7 separate regions of the Homo sapiens genome follow, and regions 2, 3, 4, 5, 6 and 7 are each linked to region 1. The links are contacts of gene promoters, found by promoter capture Hi-C in blood cells and fetal thymus (Javierre and others, 2016). All regions are on one chromosome and are shown on one strand. The core of a region is centred on a gene start or on the middle of the fragment in contact, and the rest is flanking DNA. Distances in the headings are between cores, read along the strand shown.

Evidence for each region. Contacts are between HindIII fragments. The CHiCAGO score rates a contact against its expected background, and 5 or more counts as called.
Region 2: a contact is called between the fragment with the promoter of WDR75 here and the fragment with the promoter of MFSD6 in region 1, in 10 of 17 cell types (total B cells, naive B cells, non-activated CD4 T cells and 7 more). The highest score is 15.3, in total B cells.
Region 3: the fragment with the promoter of SLC40A1 here is called in contact with the fragment with the promoter of MFSD6 in region 1 in 2 of 17 cell types (neutrophils and monocytes); the score reaches 7.1 in neutrophils.
Region 4: a fragment that was not itself captured here is called in contact with the fragment with the promoter of MFSD6 in region 1 in 4 of 17 cell types (total CD8 T cells, non-activated CD4 T cells, naive CD8 T cells and 1 more); the score reaches 5.5 in total CD8 T cells.
Region 5: a fragment that was not itself captured here is called in contact with the fragment with the promoter of MFSD6 in region 1 in 3 of 17 cell types (total B cells, neutrophils and naive B cells); the score reaches 8.6 in total B cells.
Region 6: a contact is called between a fragment that was not itself captured here and the fragment with the promoter of MFSD6 in region 1, in 1 of 17 cell types (fetal thymus). The highest score is 9.5, in fetal thymus.
Region 7: a fragment that was not itself captured here is called in contact with the fragment with the promoter of MFSD6 in region 1 in 1 of 17 cell types (naive CD4 T cells); the score reaches 5.2 in naive CD4 T cells.

Annotation. Positions count from the first base shown.
Region 1 is chr2:190,406,109-190,410,133 of GRCh38, reverse strand. It overlaps MFSD6 (major facilitator superfamily domain containing 6), which reads right to left and starts at 1,779. Exons shown (of 8, transcript NM_017694.4): 1 at 1,631-1,779. RefSeq lists a silencer at 1,159-2,198 and an enhancer at 2,459-2,508. The HindIII fragment of the contact is 2,674 bases long and covers 346-3,019 here.
Region 2 is chr2:189,439,747-189,443,771 of GRCh38, reverse strand. WDR75 (WD repeat domain 75) reads right to left here and starts at 2,298. Exons shown (of 21, transcript NM_032168.3): 1 at 2,194-2,298. The coding sequence starts at 2,279. It also overlaps a transcript of COL5A2 not described here. RefSeq lists enhancers at 1,853-1,902, 1,923-2,152, 2,173-2,302, 2,563-2,782, 2,803-2,962 and 1 more. The HindIII fragment of the contact is 5,353 bases long and covers 37-4,025 here.
Region 3 is chr2:189,579,102-189,583,126 of GRCh38, reverse strand. SLC40A1 (solute carrier family 40 member 1) reads left to right here and starts at 2,341. Exons shown (of 8, transcript NM_014585.6): 1 at 2,341-2,709; 2 at 3,247-3,314. The coding sequence starts at 2,667. RefSeq lists silencers at 2,088-2,257, 2,328-2,387. The HindIII fragment of the contact is 14,460 bases long and covers 1-4,025 here.
Region 4 is chr2:191,147,247-191,151,271 of GRCh38, reverse strand. It overlaps STAT4 (signal transducer and activator of transcription 4), which reads left to right and starts at 278. Exons shown (of 24, transcript NM_003151.4): 1 at 278-325; 2 at 3,068-3,196. The coding sequence starts at 3,069. RefSeq lists an enhancer at 69-118 and a silencer at 589-638. The HindIII fragment of the contact is 1,915 bases long and covers 710-2,624 here.
Region 5 is chr2:189,695,125-189,699,149 of GRCh38, reverse strand. ANKAR (ankyrin and armadillo repeat containing) reads right to left here. Exons shown (of 23, transcript NM_001378068.1): 6 at 3,989-4,025; 7 at 2,781-3,000. Among named protein-coding and RNA genes, the nearest start is that of ANKAR, 22 kb to the right of the region's middle. The HindIII fragment of the contact is 3,751 bases long and covers 270-4,020 here.
Region 6 is chr2:191,028,644-191,032,668 of GRCh38, reverse strand. STAT4 (signal transducer and activator of transcription 4) reads left to right here. Exons shown (of 24, transcript NM_003151.4): 22 at 1,153-1,219; 23 at 1,589-1,697; 24 at 2,803-3,093. The coding sequence ends at 2,829. STAT4-AS1 (STAT4 antisense RNA 1) reads right to left here. Exons shown (of 3, transcript NR_136318.1): 2 at 1,572-1,784; 3 at 355-497. Among named protein-coding and RNA genes, the nearest start is that of STAT4-AS1, 9.1 kb to the right of the region's middle. The HindIII fragment of the contact is 1,766 bases long and covers 1,263-3,028 here.
Region 7 is chr2:190,946,871-190,950,895 of GRCh38, reverse strand. All of the region lies in intron 14 of GLS (glutaminase), which reads right to left. Among named protein-coding and RNA genes, the nearest start is that of STAT1, 65 kb to the left of the region's middle. The HindIII fragment of the contact is 5,276 bases long and covers 1-4,025 here.

The sequences.
Region 1 (4,025 bases), core at 530-3,029:
ACCACCAAATACCTGTGAACTCTGCTTTTTGTCTTTGTGTTTTATTTGCCTTCACGCTTTTATATTTATTTGTATAGAGATGGAAAGTGCCTTAGAAATAAACTGCTGTAAACATGAAGGACACACAACTACTTAGTAGCTTTAATGCATTATTGAAGTGATGTTCTCTCCTCCTGTTTCCCCAGAGCATCCTGCACTGGGCTCATTAACAATGTCCCATCCTTCCCCTAAGCAATCCTAAATTTTACTTACACCTCGTGATAAATACAAGCCATCTGACTATCACTAAACAGCTGACCATATCCTGCACCTCTGCTAGCAGCTTGACGTGTCAAAAGCCAAGCTTCCCAAAGAGGAGGATCCTATCCTTTTACTTAACAAGGCTAAAACAGATGCATACACTTTTAGCTGGCTAGTGCCCACATCTTGGGGAAAGGACCTACCAAGTACACATCTCCTTTTATTACATATTTTAGTCAACTGTATGTCCACCCACCCTTCACATTCATCTATACTTAAGAGGTTAGATTTCTAGAAAATCATGGACTTCTAGAAGGATTAGGGGAAATTTTGGCCACTATAATATCCAACCATCCTCTTTTCCATGTGAGAAAACTGGGGCTCAGGAAGATGTGACATGCCCAAGCACACACATCTATTTAAATACCAGTTGGGATTAGAACCCCAACTCTTTAAGTCTTTTGCACACTAATAAGCAAGGTATTATATGTTCCAGTAGTTCTGTGAGGTGCTTATTCAATCTTTTTGGGATGAAAAGAAACGTCCGTGGTTGCGAATGCATAAAGGTAATTAACCCACCTGTCTGTCCATGTGGGGATGGGATTAACGAGGGGGAAAGTTGCGTTTGTATTTTTCCACCATCTTACCTAAATTTGCAGGAAAATTGCTCTATGGGCAATAAATATGACCCAGAAAGACTAGCAACCCCCAGTAGTATCTCAAAAGGGCTCCAGAGACATGTTAGACCAAGTGGAAGTAAAGCACGAGGTGGGGGATGTCTGCTAGGATGGTGGCTGGCAGAGCAGAGGTATTTTTTTTTCCGTATTTATTAACCTGGGAGGGCAGACGTTGTCAATTTCCTCCTCCTGCCACACAAGTGGCCGCGTCCTTGTCACTGGGGCTGTGTGGAGGTTCTCACCTCCTCCTTTTTCCCAGGGATGTTTATGGCGAGGGCGCGGGTCGGCCCGGGCGGAGGAGGACCCGGGCATCGGCGCTCACCCTCCGTCCCCACCCGCGGCAGCAGCTGTGGGCGCCCGGCGAGGGCTCCCTGGGCAGCGCCTTTGTTTTCCCGACTCCAGTTACGTTTGCGGAAGTGCTGCCAGCACGGGGCGCGCTGGGGGCGCAGGCGGCAGCCTCCCCCAGCACCCCACAAAGATGACACCCGACACGGAAGCCGGGGGAGGGAGGGAGGGAGGGAGCGGCGGGCGAGCGAGGCCCGAGCGGAGACAGCGGCGCACGCTGGGCTCCGAGCCCCGGCCCCGAAGCCCCTTTCCCGGCAGCAGGTGTGCGCGGCTGAGGTGCCTACCCGCCCTCCGGCTGGGCCCGTGCGGGGCGGGGGAGGCCAGGGCGGGTCTGCGAGCCCCTTCTCCGCAAGCCGGGCCCGACTCACCTGCTGCGGCGGCGGCAGCGCTCAGCTGCGCGGGGCGCGGGGAGCCCTGTCCCCGGAGCACGGGGCGGCGGCTCGGGGCGCCGGGGCGGCGGCTGTCGGGGCAGCGCGCACCATCCCGGGCTGCTCGCGCGCTCCTCCGGGGCTGCGACGGGCTGGGCGGGGCGCGGCGAGGCGAGGCGAGGGATGCGGACCGGGTGGGGCCACGGAGGACGGAGGCGGAGGGCCCAGCGCTCCCGCCGGCGCGACCTTCTCTCCCGCTGCGGCTCCTCCTCCTCCCCGGCCCCGGCCTCACAGTCGCCGCCGCCGGTCACTACCGGCTGGACCCGTTTCAGGGCCGGGCGCTGAGGACCGGCCGCCAGGTGCAGCGCTCCGCCTCCTGCGGCGGCGGCGGATGCGTCGACTGCCCGCTCCCGGCCTCCAGCCCGCCCCGGCGGCCCGGAGGGACACCTGAACCCAGCCGGGCCCGGGGAGCACGCTGAGGAGGCGAAAGCACTGGGCGAGGCTCCATCCCTACCGCACCCTCCACCCCCCCGCACCCCCAAGCGACTTCCGCTGAGCCCCCAGGCAATGAGTGCGGGCCAGGAAATGTGGGGGAAAATGTACTAACATCCCTTATTCCTTGAGCGCCTTTTAAGTGGCACACACAATGCTAATGCTGTCAGTGCGTTATCTCCGCGTCTGTCCCAGGTTGACCCGGGAGGGAGGAGCCGGCGGGGTGCGGGAGACAAACGATCTGTGAGTTTCGGGGCTCACCAAGAAGGGGGAACACTGAGACGAAGGCACCCTTTTTCAGGAAGCTGCTACTGGCATCTTGCTGAAAAGCCAACCGTGTGTGTCGCACTAAGAATATAATTAAAGTTGTATTTCTAGTTAAACACGCAGAGAGTTGGGGGAGAGTGGAGTATTCACTTGGCAAGTATGTCTGTGTGCCTGTGATGGGCTTTGGGGGATGCCACATCCTGTTCTTAAGGAGTTTATTGTCTTGTTCTGGCAACAACGACAAGAGTGACAATGGTAGCTAACGGCAACAACGACAAGAGTGACAATGGTAGCTAACGCTTATAAACATCGATTATGTACGGGGCACTGTGTAGGTACTCTTTGAGCCTTATAACCCTATAGGTGTAGGAAACGTTATTCCCATTTTACAACTGAGGAAAGCCGAGGCTGAAAGTTAATGTGACCCATCCAAAGTTACTAAACAGCGAAAGGGAAAGCAGGCTTCTTTTGTCTCCAGGCTTTAAGCTCTTAACCGTGAAATCATACTGGTAAGAATTTGATAGGCCCTGAAGTTTCTGAATTTTGAGTCCCTCTTTAGGAAGAATAAAACAATTACAAATACGAAGTTTCTAGGGCCCCTTCCTGAGCTTATGAAGGGTCTCTGAAGCTTAAACTATAGTAGCCTCATGCTAAATCCACTTTCAATATTGACGTAGATATTCAATCATTTCTTTCTCCAGGCATTTCTTTCTCCTGTCAGGAACACGAGACACTGGTCCCCTCCTTGAAACTCTTCCCTTCTCTTCTTTTGGTGCTCCGTAAGTGTTGGATTTTCCTCCTTGAAACTCTCCCCTCCTCTGCCTTCTGTGACCCACAAGTCTTGGGTTTTCCTCTTCCTCTCTGGCCACTCCCCTTTGCTCCACTTGAGTTTTAGTTTTCCTTGGGTTTTGTTCTAGGCTTTCCTTTCTTCTGATTCTGTTTGTTTCTGCGAATTCTCTCACTCCTTGGCTTCAATCACAGAATATTTGAGGGTGCTCCAAAAGCCCTCTCTCGGGGTCAGCTTTTCTCCTGAGGGCCAGATCCTTATGGCCAGTTGTCCAGTGGGATGTGTCACAGGCACCCCAACCTCACTAAGTGCCACGTCAATGTTTCTTTACCTTCTGTTCTTCCCCTACTCGTTTTTTTTTTTTAAGATGGAGTCTCACTCTGTCGCCCAGGCCGGATTGCAGTGGCGTGATCTCAGCTCACTGCAACCTCTGCCTCCCGGGTTCAAGTGATTCTCCTACCTCAGCCTCCTGAATAGCTGGGATTACAGGCATGTGCCACCATGTCTGGCTAATTTTTGTATTTTTAGTAGAGATGGGGTCTCACCGTGTTGGCCAAGCTGGTCTCAAACTCCTGACCTCAAATGATCCCCCCACTTCAGCCTCCCAAAGTACTGGGATTACAGGTGTGAGCCACTGCACCCGGCCCCTCATTCACTCTTGCTTCTGGGTTCCCAGACTCTGGGGTCCCAAACAGCCATCCACCCAGTTGTACAAGGCCCTTCTTCTCAATGCTCCTTTCACCCTTATACCCATGCCCAGTGTATTAGTTACCTATTGCTGCTGTAACAAGTTATCGTAAACTTTGTGGATTAAAACACACATTTATTATCTTACGATTCTGGAGGTCA
Region 2 (4,025 bases), core at 1,049-3,548, 970 kb after region 1:
ATCCCCCCAGTTTTCAAGGCCCCCAGATTTCAAGCTTGTTTGCCTGGCATTCCATCCCCCAGTATTACTGGTGAGGCAAACTCTTGCCATTGCTGCAAGAACCACTACTGAAGGTAAAACTGACTATGTAACTCCCTCTTCTATGCCATCACTGTACTTTATGTACATCAGCCTACCCAGCTCTCATTTCTCCACTCACCAACATGTATCATAGAGTTTTACAGTTTTCAGGTTAACATTATTGAAGAAACACAATCAAATTACAACTGATTACCGCCGTCCCCTTAAAGAATTAAAAAACCATTCTCTTTGGTCCAAACAACAACCAACAACTGGCTGCACGTGTCCTTTCCAACCTCATTTCCCACTACCTCCCTTAATATATACCATTCTTACTAGCTAACTGTACCAGCCTGTTCAACAGAAATCACTTCTGTCTTTCTTGCTTACACTGTCCTCCCCACCTGAAATGTCTTCTGTCCATATTCCCCACTTAAAATATCATCTAGGCCTAGCACAAATGTCATTTGCTCAGCAATCTTCTCCGTCCTTCTTAGTTTGGGAAGTAATCTCTTCTTATGAGCTCCTTCCTACAGGACCACAGTAAGAAAAATCTGTTACTGAGTATTCCTTTTCCTCACTAGACTGTAAGCTCCTCGAAGGCAGGATCAATATTAAAATTATCTTAGTTTTTGTCACTGCAGCATGTTATACATAATATATAGTTGACAAGTACTTAAAAAATGAATTGTTGGGCTTAGCAAATCAAACACACAATGGACCTCATTATAATGAATAAGGTATAAGAACAGTACTGGTTACATGGATATGAGTCCGAAGCGTCACAGTGTGACAGCCTCTTAAAGCCTGTTTCTTCCTTTGATTCATAAGATCAATGTCAACAAAGCCACAGGACTCATTTTTTTTTGGCTTCTAAGGCAATTTATAAAAGCTCTTTCAGTCATGCTTGCATTACCTTCAACAACTACCTGTCGTACACTCATATGCAGAATATTGTGGGGGTGGGCCGGGCACAGTTGCTCACTGTAATCGCTGCACTTTGGGAGGTTCAGGTGGGCAGATCACTTGAGGCCAGGAGTTCCAGGGCAGCCTGGCCAACATGGCGAAACCCTCTCTCTACTAAAAATACAAAAATTAGCGGGCGTGGTGGCCCGCGCTTATAATACTTGCTACTCAGGAGGCCGAGGCACCAGAATTGCTTGAACCAGGGAGGCGGAGGTTGCAATGAGCCTAGATTGAGCCACTGCACTCCAGCCTGGGTGACAGAGTGAGATTCTGCATCAAAAAAAAAAAAAAAAAAAAAAAAAAGAATATTGTGGAGGCTACAAACTTTCATAAAATACTATCTCTACTCTTCTAAGGCAGAAAGGGTTTTTTGATTTTATTAAGTGCCACCCTACCTAAAGTTATTTGAAAACCTGACAATACAGTAATAATGATTACAGCTACATACATTGAGCCATTATGTGCCGGGCATTGTTGTCTGTAGTTTTAACATATTGAGGCATTTAATCCTCCCAATAACCACGTGAGATGAACTAAATATTGTCCCCCTTTACAGATGATGGCAACTGAGGCAAAGATTAAGAAACTTACAAAGGTTTCATAATGTAAGAAGTGGATTTTGAAGCCAGGGAGTGGTTTGGTTTCCAGCTACACTGAGAAAAGAGACCAAGTCTTAGCGTATTTTTATCTCATAAAGAATCTAACATCTGTTTTCATGTAAAGTTCCGAAAAGACTGCACTATGCTTCATGCACTATGCTTCAGGAGTGAGGAGTGGGTAGAAAAAGCGGAATAGTTTTAGGTTTTAGTCACTCCAAAACATGATTCTGTACGAAAGAGTAGGTACTGCAAAGGTAGTGGCATACACATCCACCCCTGGACCATTTTCCAGCCGCCCGAACACCTTCCAGATCCTCGACACGGAGACCGGCTCCAGGGCCTTTATCTACCTGCAGGTAAACTGTCCAGGAATCGGGGGACGCAACCCAATCTGCAGTGGTAACGGGACCTCCCAGGTACCCTGGGGATCCCCCACAGGCGCGTGCTCTACCCAAAGCCGATATCCGCCAGGCGGGCGAGTCCGAACGCGACTGACAATTCCTTCTCCCCGACCCTCGAGAAACTCACGCCCCGCCCCTCAGCCGACAAAGCGCGGTGCCCCTCATACTTAGAATCTGCAGAGAACACAGCTCTCCTAAAGTTCAACTCGCTGCCGCCACAACGAACCACGCGGATGTTCTCCTCCTCCACCATCTTTGCGCAGTAGCGGAATGGCCAATCTCTGGTCCCGCCCTGAACTTCCTTCGTTGAGCCGGGTAATAAGGCTGTTCCCAGCCCACAGAACCCACCCCCGGGCCCTTCTAGGCCTGAGACTCGGTGGTAGGACTCCGCTTCCGTGCAGGCACCTTTTGTGTGGGCAATGTCAAACTAAGACACTTGTAAGAAAAGGTGAAAGCAAAACAGAGATTTAGAGACAATCAGTTTTTATTATATACCTATACACAATTATTTAATACAGACATATTTCTCTCAGGCCTTGTCAACCTGACTCTATGGCTTTTTCCGCCAGAAGGGAAAGGTGGCGTATAGTGTACCACGTGACCTCCAGTCGTCCCACCGGAGGCGTCGCTTTCTAGTGTCTGTGGTGTCGGCGCTGCAGGATGACGCGAGCCTCTCGCGTCCCTGGTTTTCTCGGTCGCAGCGTTGAGTTATTGGGTGGAAAGGTAGCTTTCTCTTCCTTGTACAGCTTTTTGTTCCTCTCATTAGCCGTTCTTCTGTTCTTGTGAACATCGCTTAGGTTACTACAGAATCTCCACAGTCCTAGGGCCTAGCTTTCTTCCTTTGGAAATCTGGCTCCTACTCCGGGATTCTGGTGCATCTTCCGCAGCGTTCAGTGTAGCTGCTCGGGCTAATCTGACATTCGGCCAGTCCCGCCAGGTTTCAGGGCGCTGGTCTCTGGTTTCCTGAGTTTTACCTTTTCCCATTAGTGAATAGAATCTGTGGGTTAGGAACCCCTAAAATCTCAACATGTTTATTTTTGCCAGTTTATCTCCAGTTTTCCTTTGTAAACTTACACGTATCATATTCTTGGACCCTGTATATTATGTTGCCTATTTTGATTTCGCTTCTTGATTTGTGGATTTACCACAAAATTACCAAGGTCTCAAATATAGTCACATGTCACATAAGGATCTTTCAATCAATGCATATAACATGGTGATTCCGTAAGATTATAATACTGTGTTTTTACTGTACCTTTTATGTGTTTAAATACACAAATACTATTCTGTTACAATTGCCTGCAATATTGAGTACAGTAACATGTTGTTCAGATTTGTAGCCTAGGAGCAATCAGCTATAACGTACAGCCTAGGTGTGTAGTAGGCTGTACCATCTAGGTTTGTGTAGGTACACTCTGTGATATTCACACAATGATGAAATCACCTAAAATGCATTTCTTAGAACATATCCCCATCATTAAGCCACACATGATTATACCTATAAGTTTATTTATGGTGGAGAAATACAATATTCACAAAGGTCAAGACATATCCTGGGACAGCACCACTGTAAAAATCAGGGATAAATTTACTTTTTACTGAGGAGTCTAGCTTATTAAAGTGCTCAAAACTTTATTATTTGGGGAGCCAGAACTAGAAAGGGAGATATTTAATAATTTTGGTTTATCTCAAGCTGTAACCAGCTTTCTCTTTCATGACTGTGATACCCTTTGTCACAGTGGATGGAGTGTAAAATATCACTTTTGATTCTGCAGCCTTAACCTCTTTTTGTTTAGTCTCTTGATGTATGCACAATAAATCTTTTAAAGACTTTGTTGGGTACTTTGTAACCTGATACAGGCTTTTCCTTAGGGCCTGAGCCAAGAAACAAAATAAATATTTTCACTCAAATTAGTGTGACTTTAGTTGTATGTTACTGTATGGTAACTTTAGATTTTTCAGAAAAGAATCAGAAATCCTGATATGGACAAAAACTAGC
Region 3 (4,025 bases), core at 1,092-3,591, 830 kb after region 1:
ACTTAAAACTTGCATGACTTTCTTAGTTAGATTAAATTGATGGGAATGTTGTATGTTCTGTGTTCTCAAAAACATATATATGACTTTTGGAAGAAATCTTAATTTTCAACTGGTCAAATGTTTTCTCAGAAGGAGGAAGAGCCCGAAGGGTCTTGTGATTAAAGCGGTGCTTTGTAACCTAGCATGTCAAAGCCAAAAGAATTCTGTCATTTTGCACTTTCTGAATAGTTTGAGGATTTTTATTCTATTTTCATTTTCAATTTCTTTCCATTTCATAAGCCCCAACTAACATATCTCAACTATTCTCATTAATTAGGATTTAAGATTCCCCTTCCACAGCTCACTCACTGGTTTTAATGTCATGAACCTTGCTTGTTTTCTTTCCAAAGTATCTTTCCTACTTGCTTCACTGCAGTATCCCATTTGTTCTTTATAACATTCTCTCGGTTTTGGCTTCTGGGGACTCCTTGGTGACAATGGAGAACAGAGACTCCATATCACATTTTGAGGTATATGCTGACTTAGCCACTCTTTCCACAAATACTTCTTAAACAGTGTCTACGGGAAGTAATTTTTTTTTTAACCAACCGAACTTTTAAAAAGCCACCTGGAAGTTGGGGACAGCATGACACCCCTTCTTATAATATGTAATAATTAATGTAAAGCACTTGGAGGTCCTTGTTGCTGAGACACACTCTGACAAATGTGCAAACTATCACTATCCTTTGTGCCTTGTTGAGGACCTGTCAAAAAATTCATCTCTAATAAGGGATCGCCATAAAGTGGAGGGGTTTATTTACCAGTTCACTCCTTCACTTTAGTTCACTCATCTGAGTATACTTTGGTTTATTCTCAAGGATGCATGTATAAATGACCCTATTCTCCACGGTTAGCAAACCAAAACCTCTCTAAATTGGGAGAAAGAACTTGAATGTCGTGTGAAAGAAAGGAAAAAAGAGGGCTTGAAAAGGCAAAAAGCAGTGAAAAGCAGTAGTTAAACTGTAACCCCTATCTCTACTCACCAGACCACATCCCAACCGAATCCAGCTGCACCCACCCCGTAGACCTTTGGGGCTCCTGATTGAGAGTGCAGATACAGGGCACATACTCATGCGTGGCTCCCTTCACTACTGGGTGTCAGTCTGGCCTGTGCTCAAGGTGTGGCATCTGGTTGGAGTTTCAATATGTAGGATCCACTACCAGGGTTTTCGTGAGATTAAGAAGGGTAAGGTAACCTACTGGCAAAAGGGGCTGGTATGCCCCAGGGGTTGGTTTGGCACAGCAGGATTAAAACGAAGTCAACCAAGGCTAGAGTCTGGTGTTCTTTAGTCATTCACCTCACCCTCCAGGAGGCCACCGAATGGCTTTATCTGGACAGGGACAGATCCAGGGACACAACTGGGATAACCGGTATTCCTGGTAAGCCTGTCACTGGGGCATTTGGAGGTTAGGTGGGGAAGGGACGCGCGCGTGGGGGCGGGGTGAGAGGGTACAGAGGGAGAAGGAATGATGGTGAAGGGTTTGCTGGGGCTGCAGCATCCTCATTCTGTCTCCAGGACGGATTTGGAGGCCCCAGTTTGGGGATACGGGTAGGTCTGTAACTCGCTGCGGGACTTCACCTTTGCAAGCCTCCGTTTGCTCCTCTCAAGAGGGATGGACTCTGATCTTTGCGCCCCCTTCCTGCCCTTTGATTCTGGTTCTTTGAGGGAAGCCCTGCTATGCAGTCCGGGGAAGGAAAGGCATTCTCTGCTGCAGGCGGGCCGGAATGGGACGGCCAGGAAAGCGGCCTCTGTGGCATGAATTATATTTATTTAGATACCTGTATTAAAAATTATTTTCGTTAAAAAAGGAATCCCCACCCACCAAGCTCGCGCTGGAGCTTTGCACTGCGACCGTCCGGCGGCCGCCCTTTCCCTGAACTGCGGGGTAGCCGGTGCGCAGCGCTTTCTTCCAGCACCTGACGCTTAGTTTCGCGCAGAATCTCCCTACGCCGCCCCGCCGGCTCCACGCGCCTTCCTCCTTTTCCCAGCCCCACGGCCGCCCCCCGAGGTTGCCCTCGCGGCTTCCCGGAGAGCAGGAAAACCCGGGGAGTGGAACGCGTCGAGGCGAAGGTCCCCGCAAGCCGCGCAGGGTGTCTGCGGCCGGTTGGACGCTTGCGCCCGGGGTGGGCGACTCCTCCGGGCAAGGGCGCGGGGACGGCCCGGCGCGCAAGGTTGACGGGAGCTCGTCTCGCGCCGCGGGGACGCCCGGGCGGCCCTGAAGGGGACGGGGCGGCCCCAGTCGGAGGTCGCAGGGAGCTCCGCCCCCGACTCGGTATAAGAGCTGGGCCCGGCCCACGGCGGCGGCGGCGGCGGCGGAGAGAGCTGGCTCAGGGCGTCCGCTAGGCTCGGACGACCTGCTGAGCCTCCCAAACCGCTTCCATAAGGCTTTGCCTTTCCAACTTCAGCTACAGTGTTAGCTAAGTTTGGAAAGAAGGAAAAAAGAAAATCCCTGGGCCCCTTTTCTTTTGTTCTTTGCCAAAGTCGTCGTTGTAGTCTTTTTGCCCAAGGCTGTTGTGTTTTTAGAGGTGCTATCTCCAGTTCCTTGCACTCCTGTTAACAAGCACCTCAGCGAGAGCAGCAGCAGCGATAGCAGCCGCAGAAGAGCCAGCGGGGTCGCCTAGTGTCATGACCAGGGCGGGAGATCACAACCGCCAGAGAGGATGCTGTGGTGAGTGTCGTTGACCGAAAGCATATGGTGGAAACCCAGGTGGGGCTTTGGAGACAAGCAACTCTACACGAGTTCTGGAGGAATGTGGCTCTGCTGTGAACCATAGCTTTGTAAAAAGATCCTTTGACTCATATTTGGTGGACGTTAAGGAAGAAAGGAAATTCAGGGTGTGGGAAAAGGGGTTTGCACACAGGCACGGATGGAGTAGATTGGGCAGTTTGGATTGCCTTGTGTAAAAAAGAAACAAAACAAACAAACCAACCAACCCAAAAAAGAATGCTGAAACAAGAGTTTCTTCACTGTATGTGAAATGTGAAGTTGGGCAGTTATTGACTAGGTCAATAACTGAATTTAGTGAATGGTATTAAGTGAACGAAATACATCGGTTCATAGGTAACTTGATAAAATGTACGTGGTTTGTCCTGCAAAGTAGTTTTTAATAATCATGTTCTAATGAGATCAAATGGATAAGCATTCTGCCCTCAGCTCATTAAGTGACTACCATCGCTTTTTGTCACCCCGCCTGTGTCTTTGCAGGATCCTTGGCCGACTACCTGACCTCTGCAAAATTCCTTCTCTACCTTGGTCATTCTCTCTCTACTTGGGTAAGTGAGAATGCATAGTCTTACAACACAGTTGCGCAATTTTTTATTTCCTTTCGTTCTAGCCAGTTGTATTAAGCCAACTTCCAGTTTTGTCAAGCAGTTAAAGAAATAAATCATCCAAGTACACATGCTTTAATGAAAACGTTATTTACATCGAAGATCTTTCCCCATGAGTGTTAGTTAATGCAACTTAATTATCAGATCATCGTAGTTTATGTAGATAGACAACTATCCAGACAAGATTATCAAGGAAAGGAATATTTGCCTTGTTTTTAAATTTTATGTTGCATTAGTAGCTTTGGTAAATAGACATATCTGCTACAAAAGATGGATGGATGTCTCATATACCTTCTCTTCTTCACATTTTAAAATATTTTGTTTTCTTTTTTTGTTAAAATTTAGTTCCAGCGTGCAGCACCATGAGAATACAATAGAATGGTAGAGTGACTGACTTAAGCTAATAATAACATTCTAAGATTAATTGAAACATAAATGACCCCCAGAACAAATATCTGAGTGACAAAAATTCTGGTCTTTAAAAATGTTATCTATAGTTAGATAAAGTTTGGGGCAGTGGAGGCTATCTTAAAATTAATCATCCAATGAATATCAGCAATGGATTTACAGTTTTCCCTCTGACTTTCTAGGTTGTCCTGGAAAAGACCTAGTGTTTCTGTAGATCTGGGCTCCTAAAACTCTCTCCGAAAAATA
Region 4 (4,025 bases), core at 418-2,917, 740 kb before region 1:
CGCCCCTCCCCTTTTTCCTGGCACTGCTGAGCCACCTGCAGTTGCGAGAGCCGCTGGGAGGGATAAGAGGGAAGAGGACGCCCGGTGAAGGGGCTCCAGCCTGGCAGTTTCTGCGTGTTAGCATTTCTAGAATAGAGTGGGTGGGAACTGACCCAAGTAAAGTCCCAGAGACTCGAACACTGACGCACAGGAAAGCCTCAAGTGGGAGGAGAAATGCAAATCCCCTACTGATGATGGCGTCAGCGGCTTTCTCCTAGGGACTGTGAGGGGCGCTTCTGACTTTGGACTTGAGCACTGCCTGGGACCTGTGCTGAGAGAGCGCTAGGTAAGTGGCCAGACCACACCTTCTGGCTGCCTCTTGTAAGGAGGACATGCTTATTATGCAGGATACTCTGAAGCTTTGCTTTCCCTTGGCGTTTTGACAATTGCTTCATTTTAACCTTCCTGAGGAGGCTTATTATAGAAGGAAGCGCCCGACTCCACGACCCACAGATGCGCCCTGGCACGGGTTCTCCGCGGAAACCGCTCCGCAGGCCCGCGCCACGGTGCCCGGGCGAATCTCCCTGCGGGGGCCAGGGGAGCTGCGGCGGCTGCGGAGGTGTGTCCTCGCGGAGGCTGAAAGTGAGCCCCTCTTCACTTTCTTAGCCAGCTTCTCTAGAGCTGTGATGTCTGACTTTAGATTAGCGTACCTGGATTTCAGAAAAAAGCTTGCAGCTACGGCAGCCGGTGACTGTGGCTTTGATGGGCGCGAGTGACATTTTAGGGCAGGTCATCTCCTTTTGCAAGCTACAGGCCACAGAGCCAAAGCGGCACCACCAGCTCACAGACGGTGGGACAAAATGCCCCTTTAGTGGGATCTTCTAGGAAATGCACGCAAAAAGGACAGACAGGCACTGAGTTTTCAGAAGCAACGTCACAGTTTTCATGAGAAAGAAGTAGCCCCTAGAGAGTGAAAGCAAAGAAACCTGCTGAAGGATGTCTAAAGGCGTTCCCAGAGGCTGCAATAGAAAATGTCCTAGGACTATGTATTCCTTCTTCTTCCTTTTTTCAGCTTTGAATTCAGCTCTCCGAAAGACTCAGATCTTAGTAGTGATTTTTTTCGGTGTTTATTTTTATTTTTTTTAATTTTCCTTTTATTTTCATTTGACACACAATTGTAAATATTTATGGAATATACAGTGATATTTCAATAAATATGAACAATGTGTTATGATCAAAGGATATTCAGCATATCCATCACCTCAAACATTTATCATTACTTTGTGTTGTGAACATTCAAAATCCTCTTAGCTTTTTGAAAATATACACTAAGTTATTGTTAACCATATTCATCCTAGTGTTACAGCACTAGAACTTATTCCTCCCATCTACCTGTAAGTTTTAGTTAGAAAATAGATTTTTCATCCAAATCATAGCGGGGGTTTAACAATAGTATGATGAAAAACTGTAATGCTATTTTCAACTCATGTTCTCTGTTGTCATTAACTAAAATAAATTGATAGATAGGACAATGTTGATAGTAGCATGAGAACAAATGTTCCAATTTTGTGTGGAATATATACACATCCGATGGAATATATATACATCCGATATCTGGAAAAACAAATGGTTCAGACTCAGGAAACCTCAGGTTGTCCCTTAGAAGCCTCACACATTAGGCAGGCGTCATTTCGCCTATTTGATCTTCAAGTTTTTCCTTTTTAAAGTTGACATACTACTTATATCCACCTACCATATTCATAGCAATGTCAGGAGTGCCACTCATTCTTCATTTAACAAGCATTGATTGAGCATTTACAATATGCCTAGAATTGTAAAGTGTAAAGGTTTTCATAAATATAAAATGATATGCAAATAAAACATTACTTCTTTTCCCACTTGCTTTCTCTTTAGCAAAACATTGGCAACACGTTTTTTTATAAATTTTAAGTCATTTACCAGGAGCTCAGGGAAAAGGTGCTCAAAATGATTCTACTTAAAACCCAAAGAATATGTATATGAAATATATGAAATTACCCTGGTGTTCTATAGGCAAAAGGAAACCTTAGCCTATCTATGAGATATGTTGAAATGTTATGGTGATTAATCATGTAAAAGGGGGTTTGGTGTTTTTACTTGACTTAGAATTGCTGAGAAAACAACCAAAAATTTGACTTTGGAAAACATAAAATGCTGTAATTTCAAGGAGGCAGCGTCATACTAATTTTCCTGAGTTAGGAAATATGTCTACAGCTTCTAAATTGGCCAGAGTGGGGTTACAAGGGGGAAATGCGTACTTTTCTTTTATGACAGGCTGCCAAATAGGTATCAAGTGTGGTTTCTTACTCCTTAAGTAACTTGAGGGTTTAACCACTATCAGATGTTTCTCAGAGACAAAAAGACTACATCCTTTAAGAGCTTTGCCCATCTATAATGGATCCTCACAGAGAGAAATGAAACACATTCACTGGTTCAGAAATATTTTTAATTTAAAAAACTGGAGCCTACGAAAATGCATACATAAAATTCTTCATGAAGCTAAGACAAAATTGGACTAGAAGTCAAGAACATAAAGCTGACTCTAGAAGCCAGACAAATCTGAAATAAAGAAAAAAGAAATTTGGCAATTTCATATAAAAGAAGCTTCTTGGGGGGTTGTTCCTCACATATAAAGTCTTAGAGGGTTTTAGGAGGTATAGTAAATGTCAAATACGTTTGCCTTCAAGTTGCTCCAAGTCTAAATGTTGAGGGGACAAGAGATAGGGAAAGAGCTTGTTGATAATAGAAATTCACATAGACAGCTGTGGGCAGGATGTGGGGTGTTTGGCAGAGTGGGAGTGAAAACTTTTTGGAGCAGGTAGAACAGGAGTTCATTTTAGAGCAAGGAAGGCTGTAGTTTAGGGGCACAGAAAGAAGGCTGCTCCCTTCATTAGGGTTGAATTATGAAAAAAAACCTTAGTGAAATTTTTGTATCCTTGGATATATTGGAATTCAGTCATAACATTGACTAATTCTAAGGAAAGAAGAAAATATGTACTAGGGCTATGAACAATATTTTAAAACTCTAATTCTACACCTTCTTTTATAGCATGTCTCAGTGGAATCAAGTCCAACAGTTAGAAATCAAGTTTTTGGAGCAGGTGGATCAATTCTATGATGACAACTTTCCCATGGAAATTCGGCATCTGTTGGCCCAATGGATTGAAAATCAAGACTGGTAGGATCAAACATATTTTCCCTAGAAGTTGATGCACAAATGTCTGATGCTCTATCCATGTGAATTTATTTTATGGTCCACTTTTTACTCAGTAGATGCATTCTTTTCAGGTAAAGAACTTTCTCAAGGATTTGAAAGCCTTCCCAAAGAAGGGGAATAATTGTCCTTTCTGGTTCCATTCATTGTAAATGAAAAGTTAATGGTTCCAGTGCTTCTTTTCTCTGTAAACAAAAACCCAAATAATTTTTCATGTATTAAAAAAAGAAGCAAATCAATTGATTGTCAGTTCTCTATCACAGACTCAATGTAAATCAATATTTTTTTCTCAGTAAGATTTATACTCTTCAAAGCTCTATTCACCTTATACCATTTAATTTTTTTCAGCCATCTTTTTTATTGTGGTAAAATACACATAACATAAAATTTACCATTGTTTTTGGTGTACTATTCAGTGGCATTACATATATTCACATTATTATGCAACCATCACCACCATCCATCTGCAGAACTTTTTCATCTTTCCAAACTGAAACTCTGTACTCTTTAAACAGTAACTCCCTAGTCCTCCACCCCCAACCCCTGGCAATCACCATTCTATTTTCTGTCTCTGTGAATTTGACTACTCTAGGTACTTTAGATAATTGGAATCACACAATATTTTTCCTTTTGTAACTGACTTATTTTGCTTAGTGTAATGTTTTCAAAATTCATTCATGTTTAACAGGTATCATATCAGAATTTTCTTCCTTTTTGAAGCTCAATAATATTCCATTGTTTGTATATATCACATTTTGTTTTATAAATGTATCTGTCAATGGACATTTGGGTT
Region 5 (4,025 bases), core at 896-3,395, 710 kb after region 1:
AATGTACACCCCTCAAGAAAAATTTCCTGAGCACCTATGAAGGCCAAGCGTTTTTCTGGGTGTTAGGAAACTGTGGCTAACAAAACAGACCAAATCCTTGTCCTTTATGGAGCTTTATATTCAAGTGAGGGAGACTAACTAACTAAATAAATTTATATAAGGTAGCCATAAGTGATACTTAGAAAAGAAAAAGAGAGAGCAATAATGTAGGAGGCACACTATTGTTACTCAACTGGAAATTTCTACAGGGCGGATGGGACAGGTAAGCTTCCTTTTTTCCCGCTCCAGTTCCACTCACCTCCTTTACCACCCTGGCTCTCCTGCACCTGCAGAAAAAGCAACCTGTGTCCTCTGGCTCCTTGTCAGTATCTGCCAATGGATAGCTCTGGCAGGAGATTGGAGGAGGAAGAATGAGGTCGGGCTCCCTCTCTGAGGTCATCTCAGGTTTGCTGTGCTCCTCCTCTAACGGAAGATGGCCAATTTGAGTAACTATCCCCTCCCCCTTGACAATTCAGTTCGTTGTACGTAATTTCTTTAAAACAAAAGCCTTTCTGAATTCTCTTATACAGAGTATGAAGGTATAGCCTCTTAAATATAGACAAAGAAAGTATAACCTCTTAACATTTTGTTTTTCTCCATATCCAACATTGAGGTTAAGTCTACTACCTCAGTCAAAAACGACTCATTCCTCAGACCTCACAGATTGTTACTGCCACTAGATGGCAGCCTATCTAATTTATATTATAATAACTTTTTTTTTTTTAAGTTGTAGAAACCACTTGTGGGCCTGAATTTATAAAAAATAAAGGTGACAGCAAATTCCACAGGAAAAAAAGAGAAAACTCCCCAAACTGAAGAGGAATACCAATAAATAACTATGAGTAGAAAGTAATTTATGCTTCAAAATGAATACAAAACATCATTATGCAACATTCTGATGCAACAGTATTTTAGAGATTATATACTATAAGAAAAGTTCTAATATATGCAATAGCCTTTTTAAATGCACCAAATACTTTATTTATGTCTTACCATTTCTTTCCTTTTTTACCTCTACTTTGGATGACTCTGTTTTAAAAGGGAATGCACATAGAAGTATGATCATTAATATACAGCAGTTTCCTAAGTTGTTCAAGAAGACTCATATGAATAAGAACAAAATGACTATGTAGATGTATCTGGCAAGATTACATCGAACAGTGTTGAGAATAACTTTTGGTCAAGTCATCCAGGCATGTCATATGCAACCTGACAACGCATTAAAAGCAGACCTGGAAACTCTGCCCCCCAAATGGCTGCTTAAAACTCACAGGTGGGACAATTTTGTGTTGGTTAAGCAATAATATTGGAAGTAGAGTACTATGTTTTCCACACTTCAAAATCTACCTAATTCTCAGCAAATGGAAACTCAAGCAGTCAGAGGGCGCATGAGAAACTTTTAATTTATCAAAGACTTTTTCCACACTAAAAAAGGCTTAAAGTAATACATCTTTAAATAGTGTTACCTATTGCATTTAAATGTGATTGAATTGTGTCTTATTTTAATTAGGTTCATTATGTATTATGTATTGAATATTTTCAGTAACAGAAGAATCTGAATATCAAAACATTTTAATCATACTGATAGAGTACAGAATTTATGGATATTCAATACGGTTAAAGCAAAACATTTTGTTTTGGCGTCTGTAAAAATTTAACATAGCTTATTAAGATAGCTGACTTCATTAAATATAAAATCACCACTTCTTATTGCCAATATTGTTGCATTGGCCATTCCTGACAATTTACATATATATGTACATATATATGTGTAACCTCAAACTCCTGGGCTCAAGCAATCTTCCTGCTTCAGCCTCTCAGAGTAGCTAGGACTACAGGCGTGTACCACCAAGCCTGGCTAAGTTTTTTTTTTTTTTAATTTTATGGGCAGGGGGTCTCGTTATGCTGCCCGGGCTCATCTTGAACTCCTAGTCTAAAGTGATCCTCCAGCCTCAGCCTCCCAAAGTGTTGGCAAGACAGTAGTGAGCCACTACACCTGCCCCTGACAATTTATCTATATTTTCCTTTCCAGTTATGGAGGGCCACCAATTTCATTTTCAACTCTGTTTTTATTCTAGCTAAATTTATTTCAATGATTATAAAATATCCATGCATATTTAATAATCACAAAAATAGCTTTTAAAGTTTAAATGAGGTTAACCTTAAAGGGGCTATTAATGCTAAACATTATTATGATAAAGAAATTTTTTGTTATTAAATGTAATTTAAATATATGTAATATAAAGAAACTATTCCCTGTTTGAGGATCCTGGAATAAAGAATGATTGTTCTACTGGGACCTGACAGTCATATCTATTGCTGTTCTCTGAATTTCTATAGTATATCAGTGTATATTAATTTTGCCAGTGCTTATCAAATGATATCCTGCCTTCACCCATCCATGCATTAACTCAACAAATATTTTCTGAGCAACCATTAAGCCACACTTTCATCTGGACATTAGTATACCACGGCAAATAAAGTAGGCTAAATCTTTGCCCTCTTATAGAGCTTATACTCAAATGAAGGAGACACAATGAGCAAATATAAAACCATATAAGCTAGCTATAAGTGATACTTAGAAAACTAAAAGAAGCCTTTCTTAGATAAATGAAACAAAAACCTCAACTTTGCTCTAGTTAATACCAAATTTTAACCTGCTCTAAAATCAACGTGCATTCCTAATGCTGAGTAAGGGTAAATAAAATAACAACATTTTAGGTTAAAAAACTTTATGGTACCTTGGCTGAACGTAACAAAGCGCCTCTGGTTGACCTTGAAGTTAGCATTGCACAGTTGACATATAATAGAAACTCTGTTGTGCAGGGCAGCATGATGAAAAATAGTATAACCTGCTTCATCTGAAACATTGATTGTTGAGCTTGAGGTTTTACGGCTAAATGTGTGGAAAACTGCAGACAACCCTCTTTCAACAGCGGACTTCATACCAAATGGAATACTCTAAAATTAAGAAGGCCAGAATCAGTTTATCAAAATGCACCTAAAGTTTGGTTTAAGGAAAAAAATACATGAAGTGTATTAACAGAATCACATGAATGCTGTTAAAATTAAGTAGAATTTTCACAAGATCCATGCATGGAAAGTTTCTTACTGGATAATGATTAAAGTAGTTAGAGCTATAAGCAAATATTAAGAATTTAAAAAATATTTTGGGGAATTTTTTATTATTAATTTTTTTCTAAAATATTTTAAAAGCAAATGGAGATCATTGGGTTCCTTCTCTGATTTAAGAAAAACCTAATTCAGAAGTCTAGAAATTTGAAATATATAGCTGTAGAAATACAGTTTGTCATCCAAAGGTAAAAATGTCACCCTCTTTAGACATTCTGACTAATATTTAAAAATTCAACTAACAAATTTTTGAGGTTTTAATTTGTGGACGTGAAAACAAATAAATGGAAAGTAAATACCAGTCTAACCTTTGAAGCTGGTGAGCTTCTTTGCTCAGTTCCAGAAGCTGTACTTCAAGGCTTGTTGAAACAGATGTGGAGATTTGATGATGCTAGGTCTGCTCTTTAGGTTTTAGTTCCCAGGACTGAAGCCTGGCTCTGCCATTTACTATATGATTTGTGAAAGATCCCTCTCTACACCTCAAATTTCTCATTTGTATAACAGGAATGATAATAATAGAACTAGTCGTACCTTAAAAGAGTTCATTGATTTATAATATTGCCTAACATACAAAATAAGCAATCAATACGTATAAGCCGTTATTGAGATTAATCACAATCCAGTGCATTAACAGGTACTCTGCCAGAAATTTATAATCCAGAATTGTATAGCCTTTCAGCTACTAAAATGTGGCATTTTATTTCATGTTGAAGACTTTAACCTATTATTATCCCTAGGATAAACATCTGTTTGAGACACATACTTATCAATAATACATAACTTCATATACTAAATTATGTGGTAGTCACTGAAATACCTTGCATTTCATAGCTCTTTTGAAACCAAGCTTTTTC
Region 6 (4,025 bases), core at 896-3,395, 620 kb before region 1:
AGACAGAAGTGGTGCAGGCTTCATGTCTATGACTGAGGGAAAGGAAAAGAAAGAGGGGGTAATGATGAGAAGCTTTTAATAGTAAAACAAGTCTGTATATTGCAAAGGAACCCCAGGGTTTATAAGTTTTATATTTTTAACCTTACTGTAGTCTTACAACTCAGGGTATTTGTTCATTTGCTAGGGAGGGGACCTGTGGATCTCTGCTTCATCCTCTCCCTCCCCCACACTCCCAGCCTACCTTTCCTGGTTGTATCCTAGGACCTAGAGCAATGTCTGGCTAAAAGAGGGATTCAGTAAATATTTGTTGAATACATAAAAGAAAATTTGTTAAATTACTATGCAATTTTAAGGTACGTTCACCATTCTGTTTCTTTAATGAAAGTGTATACAATCCATAAAAATCTTCATCTATAGCACTAAATCTTTGGGCACCATCATGTAGAATATCCTACAGTTGTCACTCACAGACTTGCAGCCACCTGACTTCATGCCCTCTGAAATAAACAAAAATACAAAAGAAAATAAAATCAAACAAACCTGTGGCTTTTCAGTGACTTTCAACAACTGATAAAAATGAAATAACAAATATCAATGCAACAAATTAGGGTTGGAAAATTGGAACAAATACTAGTTCAACATGGTATACCAGAGAAGTTTGGGGAATTTTTCCAAGGTGAGGTTTGCACATGACTGTTACTACAGTACAATGATACTTTTGGGAACACTGACATCTGTACTTCAAGAACGTTTGCAATCATAAGATTCTGATTGGTGTCAATTTTAATGAAAAGAACTGGGTTATTATATCTCCCAAAACATGACTCAATCAGTCCTTATAATCAAACATAAATGAAACGTAGAAAACAGGTAATAGAGTTGATTCTCAATTTTTCCCACACAGTTTAGAGGCATTAATATGTAAAGTCAGATTAGGCCTGCCAAGAGATTTGTTTTTCTCTTCTTGCACATTTTATGCTTATCTAAAAGATTGTGTCCCCTATTTAACAAAACATTTCTGTGTATCACCGAACAACTGCGTTATCTCTCTTCCTCTTATCATTGTTAATATTTTTCTAGACTCTTTTTTCCCCAGTTTTATTGATAATATTGACATTTTTTTCCCCAACATTGTGCCTTTTTGTTTTCCAGTTTCAAGACCAACAGAAAGGGGTGACAAAGGTTATGTTCCTTCTGTTTTTATCCCCATCTCAACAATGTGAGTAATGTTAGTCACATGTGAAATATTTTTATAAAAAGCTTTCCTATAGGAGATTTAAAGGTAGAGCAGAGTACACATAACTGAGAACAAAGCATTGTAATGTGCAATGTCCCATTTCCTTTAATACATAAGGCTAGCCTTCAGGGCACACTTACCACAATCTATTGTGCCTAAAATTATAAAATTCCCCTTTTATATGCCATATATGCCACAGTAAGTTGAGTGTTCTGATATGAAATGATGAATTAGATAACTCAATGTCACAAATAGATGAAGCCCTAGAAATGAGTTCCTGACATAGTAAGTCACCGTGAACTATTATTATTTTTTAATCCTTGTCCATATTGACCTTGTTATCTCTTTAAGCCGAAGTGATTCAACAGAGCCACATTCTCCATCAGACCTTCTTCCCATGTCTCCAAGTGTGTATGCGGTGTTGAGAGAAAACCTGAGTCCCACAACAATTGAAACTGCAGTATGTTCCCTTTATTTTCCATTGCTGGTCAAAGGTGTTTCCAACGATGCAAAGGTGGTGTGTGAATCAAAGGGGCTGAAATACTGCCTGGGTAGGGAGAAAACACATTTATTGGAACAAATTCATGAGCATAACACAAAAGGTGTCTGGATGGTCCTGCGTGTTGCTGATATTATGCGTATTGAAAGCAGACACCTTCAGTTACTTAAACTGCTTTACGTTGTTTCCACCAGAAACCACCAGAGGGCAAAATATTCCTATACCCTACTCAAGCACACTATCGCTGCTTGCACCATGGGCCCCCTCACTCCCCACCACTCTCTACTTTAGCAAACACCATTTATTGGTCAATATTTATAAACCTAGTATACTATCTAGTTTACTAGTTACTTACTATCTAGTAAACCCAGTTTGCTATCTTAACAGTGCAAACATCACAAATTGCAATTTTTCTTGATTGTGACTTGCATTTCTAGAACCCGGAGCCTCATCAATAATATATGAATAACAGTCAATGGCATAATAATGCTCTCCTTTTTGAGAAATGAGTCATAATCTTTAATGCAATAATGTTATTTGGGATGCATGCTATTTGCTCTTATCCACCAATACTGTCAATGGGTTCAAACCCCCAATTTACATGAAAGTGAACATACATCAGAATAATATAATAGAAACTTGGAGAGACCCTAAGCCTCAAAAAATTTTTATCTGGCTGGCTTTTAGTCCTTCTCTTGAAGATTTCCATAGATGAAAAATTCACTTTACTTTGATAGCTTATTCTAATGTTAGTTCCCTTAAATCGTCAAGTTATTTATGTCTAACTGAACATTTGCTACATTTTGCACCCATTTCCTCATTATGTTTTTGGTGGATAAACAGGCCTTTTTCTTAAAACACTTTTCTGTCTCCTTGAAAGGTACCTTTTATTTTAGACTGATCAACCCCAATTACTTTTGCAAATACTTAGTTTAAGTATTTTAACTAGGTAATAGAAAAATTATGGAGTAATTCGTAGAAAAGAGGACGTTTATTTGCCCAAGAAATAGTGATTGATTTGAAAACCAGTAGTTTCCTCAAAGATTATTTTCATTTTTAATTTTAGATGAAGTCTCCTTATTCTGCTGAATGACAGGATAAACTCTGACGCACCAAGAAAGGAAGCAAATGAAAAAGTTTAAAGACTGTTCTTTGCCCAATAACCACATTTTATTTCTTCAGCTTTGTAAATACCAGGTTCTAGGAAATGTTTGACATCTGAAGCTCTCTTCACACTCCCGTGGCACTCCTCAATTGGGAGTGTTGTGACTGAAATGCTTGAAACCAAAGCTTCAGATAAACTTGCAAGATAAGACAACTTTAAGAAACCAGTGTTAATAACAATATTAACAGAAGACTCGCTTGCCTGTGTTTGGTTTATTTCTCATTTTGTCTCTCTGGTGTTACTACGATTTTAGCTAGAAGATGTAAGTGTTAATGTTTCAGGGTAGGTCAAGAATAATAAAGTCACACCTACACCTCAGCAAGAAGGCGTGAGGGAAAAGCCAAATAAGCCAATCAGTATGATGAACGCTAGCAGGCATGGTGATCACAGTAGATCCAAGAGGAAAGTCGTGATGGGACATTAGCAGAAATTCACGGGGCATCCAGGGTTGAATTATGAAGCCTCCTTAGTGCCATGTCAACGTTATTCCAACTATGGGGTTCAACAGCTGCTGGTTCCAAAGGAGGAGGGATCCAGAGTCATTCCTGGTGGTATCTTGGGCAAACTGCACTGATTTTACAGGTATTGTAAGCAGACACATGGGTTAAAAAAATAATAATTTAAAAAAACTCATGAGGACTAGGAGGATGAAATGAGGACTAGGAGAATAACAACTCTGGCCTTGGGTAACTGATTTTATTCATAGGTTGCTCATTCTTCATCTCTAGAAGAGGTAAGACTATGTGGGTTCTATGATCTTTCCCAGCTCTAATAGTCTCTCTGGTCCTAAGAATCCAACCTGAGACTGGGGAAAGAGGTTTAGGATGAGATGTTCCATTCCTTCAATTTTCTCTAGTAAAGAGGAAGGGTAGTTGGTTTCCTGGATAGTAATGTATGTGAATTGCAAGTCTATTTTGGTCCTTGCCTCACCCCTACTGGATGTTTAGTGGTGCCATTGCCCAGCTGCTGTCCTTAGTAATAGCATGGAGCTCTCCAGTGCTCAAGACCTGGAGAGCTCTCTATGCCTGCTGAGCCCTGGGGATGCTGCTGAATCTGTTGAGCAAGTAATGCTACTGAGGCATCTGCCATGCCAGCTGCAGAAAAATCCAGAACCAGGTTTCAAG
Region 7 (4,025 bases), core at 710-3,209, 540 kb before region 1:
CATCTCAGACTTATACCCAAAATGGAATTTGCTTTGCCCTGTCTTCTGCCACTCACAGTCAGCTCCTCTTCTAGTCTCCCCAGTTTGGGGATGACACTACAATTCACCCACTTGCTCAGGCCACAAACTCAGGAGTCATCCAGTGCTGCTGCATTCACTTATGCAGGTTGAGTCCTTCACAAGGATGCCTGGCCACAGGGCCAACACGGGTTACCAGCCCACGCTCTTCCCACCAAGGTGTCCTAGCACCCAGGTACATGTGCTGGGAGGAAGGGAGCTTCTTTACCCAGTGGTGCTGAGAAGTGCTTCTGCTTCTGGCCAGAGACAGAATTAGCTTTTTCTAATTCAGACAAATTCACCATACAGACCATGGGGGGTAGTCCTTGATTCTATTCTTTCTCTCACAGCCCACATCTAGCTCATCAATAAATCCTCTTTCCTGCAAAATATGTTTGGAATCCTATCACTTCTCACCACCTCTATCACTATTGCCTTAGGCCTCATCTGAACCACCACCTTATCACCTCTGCTGCCATAGGGATCTTTTAAAAACATCAAGGAACTCCCGTGCCTTTCCATCATATCTAAAGGAAAATCAAACTCTTTACCATGGCTTTCAGGACCCTAAAGGCTCTATTCCTGGTTACACTGCACATATCATTCCTACCACTCTTCCCTTTCCAGCTCTACTCCATTCAGAACATCTGGCTGGTCTCAGGCACTCAAGGCCTACAACTGGCTGCTAGAGATGCTCTTTCCCCAGGCTGTCAGGAGGCTCCCTCTCCCCCTCCCTTTGGGTAGGTCTCCATTCAAATGTTCTCTCAAGACTCTAAAACACTCCCCTCTTTTCATCACTCCTTATCCCTTACCTTGCTTTTCCCCTTCATATATATATATATATTGTATTGTTAACTATATCCTTTTTAACTATATTTGTTATATATAACTATATATAAAGTATATATATTTTTATATATACTTGTTTTTTGTCTCTCTCATTAAATATAGGCTCCATGTGGGCAGAGACCACTTGTCTTTCTGTTCCCCACCGTAAACTCAGTGTCTATCACACATAATAGGTGCTCATTAAATATCTATTGACTAAGTGAATATTCTCCCTCAAGGCATCAAATATTCAATTTTGGGTATTAAATTGCAAAATTAATTCCTCTATCGGCCCCCAACCCTGCATTTTATTTTTTTTGAGACAAGGTCTCGCTCTGTCACCCAGGCTGGAGTGCAGTGGCAAGATCTCGGCTCATACAACCTTCGCCTCTCGGGTTCAAGTGATTCTCCCACCTCAGCCTCTGGAGTAGCTGGGATTACAGGCATGTGCCACCACTAATCTAATTTTTGTAGTTTTTGGTAGAGACGGGGTTTCACTAGGTTGGCCAGGCTGGTCCCAAACTCCCGACCTCAAGCGATCTGCCTGCCTCAGCCTCCCAAAGTGTAGGGATTACAGGTGTGAGCCCCTGTGCCCAGCCCATCTACCTTAACTTTTACATCTTTGAATATCATTACAAGATTTATTCAATCATTAACTGATGCCTCTGCTTCTGGTCCTTCTTCCACCCTCCAAAACCTCTCCACATACTTCTAATCATATTCTCAAAACATTGCTCTAATCACTACAGGTTTCTAAGCAGCGGAGTATCAAGAAACCCAAAATCATTCCTGATAACATTTAAGTTCTTCAGCCTTGTATTCAAGGTTCTTCAGTCCAGCTAACTTAATTTTTCTTCTCAACCTCAATAGAGCAAAATTGGTCTTACTGCCCTTGTTTTTGTCTTGGTGTCTATGCTCTTAAGAACACCCAGATTCCTAATCAAATCCTTCCCTTCCCTCAAAGACTAGCCCGAAAGTCCCTTCCTTGCTGTCAGTCTTCCCCAGGCCATCCCAGCCCAGCATTCATTATCTATGTAGCTTATTGCCAGCTGCCCACACAGTGCCCTGTGACAGCATGTGCTAGGGACAGAGTCAATTAGATACCTCCACTCCCACCACAACCCTGGATCTACCTCCTGCTTCCTCCCACAGTGCATACTATTCTCCTGAAATCATTTTTCCCCACCCATTTCTCACTGATATGTTATTCTTACCCATTCCTGTGAACTCTGCTCCAATCTCTTAAATCAAAAGTAATCTCCGTCTACCTTTGCTGCACTATGGCACTATAACACATGACCACATGGAGCATTTGTGTGTCTTACTTCCCCCACCACTAAGAAAAATCCAAATTCCCCTGTATATACCATTAATATATTAATTACCCAGTTATTATTTTTAAAACTATGTTGGTACTTCTAAGCAATAAAGCCTCATCTGTTTCAGTGACTGGATATAAGAACTACACATTCCCCTTTAAAATTTTGAATTTAGACCATGCTCGTTTGAAGAGATTTTATTATAGTATGTGTGTAGCACTTAGTCACTTCATTATTCAACATTTCAAACGTTCTAAAAGTCCATTTCTTATTAATAAGGCCCAAAATAGAAGATTTTAGAATATACTTGGTTTATTCAGAGTATATTGTTATTCAAAAGCATGAGAAAAAAAAATCAGGAAACTTTAATGTACAAAGGCTTTGTAACTAATCAGAAGGGAAAAACACTAGCTCGCCTTAACAAAATTATTAAAGACTAACATGGAAGTTTGGTATTCTTCCCATGAAAACAAAAGGCTAGCTATGGAGCTGGATTTAGTCCAAACCAGAAGATAGGTGCTTGAACACAAAGTGAGTGTAATTCTCTCCAAAACAGAAAAGCACTAGGAGGCAGCCCATGCACAGGCACTATTTAAAAGCAAAACCACAAATTCCTCTTCTTTCTAGCATCAACAGCCCCCTATACTTTTAAGTTTACATAAATTATGAAATGAGCTGTGGGTAGAATGCCACAAAAGAAAATGAAACTAGTTTAACACTTTTGAGACAACAGATGGAGTATTTCATTTAGGGACAGTCTGCTTCCTGGTCTGTTAAAGAGCGCCACGAGTATTTCCAACTAAGCTGACACACCCTCTGGAATGCCTATCATAGCAAACAAACTGAAGGAGAGGGGCACTCTAGAAGATCAGTCATCCACCTCCACACCAATACTTGCAAAGGATGTAGGTGTGCTAACCATTGATCAAAGCTCATTCCCCTATTTCCCCACTGGATACTTGAGTTACATTGATTTTAAAATACCTGTCAAGGAGGCCAAAGTCCAGAAAATAATGGGTTAACAGTAAATGCCAGAGGCATGGAAGCTATGTTTTGATAAATAATTCCTTACTATAAAGAAACAGACTATACACAGCCGCAATAATAGCTATTAAATTAAGGGCTCTGATGTTTAATGTATACCTCCCCATGGCAAAGAGACACTGCACCTGGGCAGAGAGCCATTAAAATTTATAAATTAACTGTTAACAGTTTCCCCTTCATCTTGTAGATTTTCCAGCACTACTGCATTTTTCTTATCAAGTCTCTTTATCAGAATCTGCCCGAACCAGACAATCTTATCTTAGTTTATTTGTACAAAGTCATGACAACAGTGGGACAAAAAATGTTACAGTTCACATGAGTTCACTTAACACTGGCATGCTTGGCATAGCAAATCTCACTTTTTTCCAAAACAGCTAGAAGCAGGTGGGGAGTGTATCAGTTTTACACATCTAAAACATGGCATTCCTAAGTCTTTAATCCTATCATTATCCTACTCAGTTTGAGCTTGTTTAAAGGTTGAGTTGTGTGACTTCTGTAAATGCCCTAATAATTCTGTACTTATGAGTAAGTAGCAATTATTAGAATTATATACTCACATTACTCTGTATTTATATAGTGGATGACCCTAAAACATTCAACATTTTAAACAGTTATAGTTGTTTTTAAAAATCCCTGACAGGCTGGTTATAAAATATGTTGATAGATATATTTTATTTATTACTACCACTGAGATTAAGGACCCTGGCTCAAGGTCACACAGCATATGAATTAGTGATGGAGCTTGAGTAGAACTCAGGTATCTGGATTCCCAATTCT